Linked DNA regions of Homo sapiens: region 1 is linked to region 2. Evidence: promoter capture Hi-C in 16 types of primary human blood cells and fetal thymus (Javierre and others, 2016). All regions are on one chromosome and are shown on one strand. Each heading gives the region's core, a stretch centred on a gene start or on the middle of the fragment in contact. The rest is flanking DNA. Distances are from core to core; before and after follow the strand shown.

What was found. Contacts are between HindIII fragments. The CHiCAGO score rates a contact against its expected background, and 5 or more counts as called.
Region 1: a contact is called between a fragment that was not itself captured here and the fragment with the promoter of LRRC57 in region 2, in 1 of 17 cell types (endothelial precursors). The highest score is 6.0, in endothelial precursors.

What each region holds. Positions count from the first base shown.
Region 1 is chr15:42,687,470-42,690,258 of GRCh38, reverse strand. It overlaps STARD9 (StAR related lipid transfer domain containing 9), which reads right to left. Exons shown (of 33, transcript NM_020759.3): 23 at 1-2,789. Among named protein-coding and RNA genes, the nearest start is that of CDAN1, 48 kb to the left of the region's middle. The HindIII fragment of the contact is 2,785 bases long and covers 1-2,697 here.
Region 2 is chr15:42,547,527-42,550,226 of GRCh38, reverse strand. LRRC57 (leucine rich repeat containing 57) reads left to right here and starts at 1,434. Exons shown (of 6, transcript NM_153260.3): 1 at 1,434-1,534; 2 at 1,771-1,876; 3 at 1,983-2,121; 4 at 2,698-2,700. The coding sequence starts at 1,793. It overlaps HAUS2 (HAUS augmin like complex subunit 2), which reads right to left and starts at 1,389. Exons shown (of 6, transcript NM_018097.3): 1 at 1,262-1,389. The coding sequence starts at 1,354. RefSeq lists an enhancer at 1,129-1,598. The HindIII fragment of the contact is 3,855 bases long and covers 1-2,700 here.

The DNA.
Region 1 (2,789 bases), core at 56-2,555, 140 kb before region 2:
GTTTGCTGCCAGCCCTGCAGACTTCTGTCAACCCAGACCCAACACTCTCCTTACACTGCACACACTGCTGTGTGGGAGCTTCCAGTGCAACCCTTGTCAGAGCTCCAGGCAGAATGGTATCTTGTTTGGGACTTGCCCTACCTTCTTCAAAGCCAGTAGAAGCCTCAGGGCATTGGACATGGTCTTGCTTAGGCCCTGAGGCACTTGTAGAATTCTGAACATCACAGGTCACAGACTGACTTTCAAAATGGGCTGTTTTTTCTCCCTGTGCAGTCACTAACAAATTATCTGAAACTTCTCCATATGTGGTGTCTAGAGTTCTGGGTTCCTGATGCTCTGGGCTGCTGTCCTGACTGCCAGGGGGTATGCCCTCTGCAGTCTCCTGCGGAACTGACTGACTTAGCTCATGCAGAGTCACTCTAGGATCATCATAAGGGGCCTGAGAAGGTAAGGCAGCCACTACCTTCTTTGATACTACCCTCCTGACCTCCTCCACAGGTGCTGAAGAACGAGGACTGTCTGGGGCCAAAGGATCAGCTGAGGAAGGTGTTCTGGTTGCATCTTTCTTTTTCTCTATGATTTCAGAAGAACTAGAGTGACATATAAATGGTTCACTTGCTCCCGCGAACTGCCTCAGTTCTCCAGTACGACGTTTCCTGTCTTGAGCAGGAGCAGCATGGGAGAAAGCCTGCACAGGATCCCATGGCTCTCTGTCAGTTTCCGTATTGGGCAGAGATTCAAAGCTGTCTGCAGACAGAGATGTGGCCTGGACTTTCCTCTCATCAGGTAACAGATCTATCTGCCCTGCTTCAGCAGATAGAGATGCCACATGAAATCCCGGTGCTTCACCCTCATTCCTGGTCTGGTCTGATGATGACTGGTCTATTTGTTTACACTGAGGCCTGCCAGCAACCCTTGAAGAACATTCGGGTTCTAGTAAAGTTTCACAGTAAGAAAGGACTGTGCCCCTGGCCACAAAGTCATGAAGCTGCTTTCTCTGGGCCTTTGCCTGTCTGATCTCCTCCAAGATGGCCAGGCACATGGATGCATGGTCAGAGGGCTCCAACAGCCTAGGCTCTGGACTGGGCACCCTCGGCAGGGAAACAGGTGCTAAGGAAACACCGCTGGTCAGTCCGACGTCCTCAGTCTCCTTCTCTGCCTTCTGCCTTGGCTTGCTGGCTTGGTCACTATCCTCTTCCAAGGAGAAGCTGACCCTCTTTTCAGGCTGGCTAGAGACCTTGTTCAGTGAACTGACTCTTATTTCTTTTTGTACAGCCACCTCGGCTTCAGAAGCAAAATCTTCACTGGTACTGAAACCCAGCAAGGTGATTCTGAGGTCCTTTCCATGGTCTTGGGGGCTGGTGCTTGCTGAGATCCTGTCCTCTGTCCCCAGAGGAATGCTCTCTGGTACACCAGATTGACTATGAGATCCCATGGCCATGGATCGCACAGACCCACACCAGGCAGTGTGTGCCTCAGAGGAACGCCCTCTAACATTTCCTTCGGGGCTGTGGCTTCTGGTCTCCGTACTCTGGTCCTGATGCTCTACTCCAGTTACCAAGGGACTGTTATGAATTTTCAACATTGTGAGATCCAGCACACAGTCAAGTGAAGAGATGCCTAGAGCAACAGGTACATGAAGACACCTTCTTGGCCACCTTGGAGAATTCAAGGGCAAGGTATTACTCAGGTCTTGGTGAAGAGGAGCTGTACAGAATTCTGTCCGGCTTAGTAATGGGCTGACAGTTTCCTGCCTGAAAAACGTGTCCCTACAAAGCTGGCTGAGACTAGGAAATTTCTGAGTCACTTTATTTTCTTCCTGAAGGCTGCCTCCCCTTTGCATAGGCATTTCTTCAACTTTACCTTGAGCTTTTGGCTCTTCTTGGTTGGAACTACTTACGTGTTCAGCTACTTGGCTTTCCTGAAAACCTTTCACAGTCTCCAATTCCTCAAGACTTCCTAAGCCCCAAGGCTGCCCTTTGAGACTTGCTGATGCTTTTACAAACTGGCCATTATTCTTAGAAGACCTCTCTAGCCTGGGTTGCAATGGCAGAGCTCTAGCCAATGCTTTCATTCTCTGTGGGTGAAGAGAAGTGTTGGTGAACTCTCTGCAAGTTGTGTGTTTCCCTAAAGAATCACAAATATCCCTGGCAGGTCTGTCCGATCCAGCTGGGTGGGTGTGCTCTCTCACAGGTTCACTCTCTCGTACACCTTCCCTTGACCTGAAGGGGTTTGGGGTGATTTTCTGGACCTGGGGATGGTTCCCAATGCTGTTAACCTCCATCGCTCCAGCTTCACTATCCCTAAAGACAGTATCATCTGTCTGTCTTGGAGAAGATGGCTGATCCTTAGAGGGCAAAGGGTTTCCAGAGCTGTCTGGCCTAAAGGCATGGTCAGTCTTCTCCTGCTCCTTCTGGTCCTGGAACACCAACTCCTTATCGGTTCCTGGTGTGTGGGAAGCATGAACCTGCTTATTCTGCTTAGATTCAATTTCTAAGATGCCATTTTCCAGCTGCATTACACTCCTAATTAGCCTAGCCATTTCATCAGTATTATTAACTCTTTTATTCTGTTTCTTTCCAGAAGGTTCTCTGTTGGGATTTAACATTTCTTGTGACTTGCATTCACTGGGGTTTCTTTCCTGAGGGCATGCAACTAACTGGAACCTTTCATATGCAGGCTTTGTACCTGGAAGCTTAAACTCTTCTGAGCTATCTTTGGGACGAAGACCTTTTTCAAGAAGCCCAGTTTCATTTTTCCCTTCCCACTTAGGGGTTGGGCCACCACCC
Region 2 (2,700 bases), core at 185-2,684:
CACTGCAACCTCCATCTCTTAAGCTCAAGCCATCTTCCCATCTGAGCCTCCAGGACCCATGTGGTCCGCGGAGTAGTTGGGACTACAGGTGTACGCCACCATGCCGGCTAATATGTGCTGATTTTTACAGATCAGTTTAACTTTTCTGTTTTCTTTTTAGTGAAATTTCTCAACTTCCTCTATATATCAAAATTTATTTCCCCATTTTTCTCAATGCCCTTGATCCCACTTGCCCCATGCCCTCCTGTCACTGCATTCCATTATTTCCTCACATGTTCAATTTCTCCCTCTGTTGGCTCCTTCCTCCGACATGCTCCTCTTGCCCAACCTAAAACTGCCACTCCGTGACTCCTTGGGTTAATGTCTCTTTTCTCTCCTTCTCAAAATTAATCTCTTCCTCCATTCACGTTCCAAGGTCTTATCTTTTTAGCCAATACTTTTTTTTTTTTTTTTTTTTTTTTGCCTTTAAAGATGCCAAGGCCGGGCGCGGTGGCTCACGCCTGTAATCCCAGCACTTTGGGAGGCCGAGGCGGGTGGATCACGAGGTCAGGAGATCGGGACCATCCTGGCTTACAAGGTGAAACCCCGTCTCTACTAAACATACAAAAAAAAATTAGCTGGGTGTGGTGGTGGGCGCCTGTAGTCCCAGCTACTCCAGAGGCTGAGGCAGGAGAATCGCTTGAACCAGGAAGGCGGAGGTTGCAGTGAGCCGAGACCACGCCACTGCACTCCAGCCTGGGCGTTAGAGCGAGACTCTGTCTCATATAAATAAATAAATAAATAATAAAATAAAATAAAAATGTCAAAAAAGAGCTTCTGGCGCTCTTCTCTACCCAGCACCTCCCGCCCCAAATACGATTCAACACTTCCCACAAACGAGGGTTGTTGGAAATGCTTGTTCCGCAAGGGGACAGAACGACCCGTATTTCCCATCCCCGCCCTTACACTACAGTCTAGAGGCAGTATCACTGGATGAAAAAAAGGCTGGTAACAGTCTAATCTCCCACAAACTGGACTGGGACAAATTTACCCTACAGACACTCAAAACACAGTCTACCCTAAACACCATCTACTCAGATCCCCGCTTTCCAAGCATCCACGGCAGAACGTTCGCGGCTGTTGCCTGGAAGGGGCTCTTATTACTCTAGTACAGACCCCAACCAGGACCCTCACCACTCCCACAGCCAGCAGCACCAACTCACAGCCATATTGTTGCCACCTTGGGCACCCCCTTGATGACACCACCGCCACCCCCACGTACCTGATTGACCATCCCCGAAGCTATGAAGTGGCCTAGCACTAGCCCAGCGCCGTTAGGCGCGGACGCCGGGTCCCACGGGTTGGCAGCGGCCATGGCTCGGACGCACCTTCCGCGAAGGCGCCAAGAGTGAGCGGGATCGCAGGGCGAACGCACGGCGCGGCTCGATGACGTCACAGGGCGTTCCCGCCCGGGACTAAGCCGGGGAGCGCATCCCGGCTACTGCGGGTCCTGGGTCTTCACCTGCGGAGCCTTACGGCAGCTGAGCGGTGGGAGGCGAGTCCGGGGCTCCCTGATCTTCCGTAGGCTCCCAGAGGCGCCTGGCCTCCGCAGAGCTGCAAAGGCGGCAGGGCTTGGTGGTCGGGCTGTGTGTTCTTCCGTTTCTTCCTTGTCGCTCTTGGGTCGGGCCCCAGGAGCCAGGGATCGGCGGGAGTTGAGAGCTGGGGCAGGAGCCCCAGCCGGGAGGCCGACCGGGTGGACTGGGCGGTGACAGCAGCGCTTCCTTCCCGCAGGGACCTGAGCCGCGGCGCTAGGATGGGAAACAGTGCGCTCCGCGCTCATGTGGAAACGGCGCAGAAAACTGGTGTCTTTCAGCTTAAGGACCGAGGGCTGACCGAGGTGAGACTGGGAGGGACACGACCAGGGAACTTAAAGGGAGAGGGACGGCGGGGGCGGCGAACTTAGTCGGTGCGGGATTCCCCACGCTGTGAACTCCTTTCTCCAGTTCCCCGCAGACTTGCAGAAGCTGACGAGCAATCTCAGGACCATCGACTTGTCCAACAACAAGATCGAAAGCCTACCGCCTTTGCTGATAGGAAAGTTCACTCTGCTGAAGAGCCTCTCCCTGAACAACAACAAACTGAGTATGGCTCTCGCCAGGGAGGCTTTTGCTAGTGATCAGCTGTTACCAGGGGTGGTTTTCTCTTACAAGCTGATTTTTGTTTTTGTTATGAAACCGTGCAGGAGGGCTCAAGTTGCGAATGCCGGAATCCTTGAAGCCTTCTTTCTACTTCTTGTAATTACATCTAAAATAAGCCTTATAATGATTGGGTGTTATAATGATTGTTACTGGGTTAATTTGGACTTGAAAGAGAAGAACATTTTGGGGATGTAATGTAAACAAAGCTACCTAACTTGGAATGGGGGATGGATGAGAAGGGGAGGATCTTCCAAATATCACAAAATTGCTGTCGGATTGTGCCTTGGGCCCCTTTACAAAAGGAGCCCATTATACACACAAATGCTCTCCGGCATTTTGATGGCACCCTCACCTTCTAAAGACTATGTTGGTAAAATGCAATATCTAAAAATGGCACATGTGGGAGTTTTACATATATTAACAAGAGGCGAAGCAGGCTGCCATATAGTCTTTATAAACTTCATCAAAGTTGTTTTCAGCTCTATCACATTCAGGTTTTAAAAAAATTTTTCTTTGCCAGCTG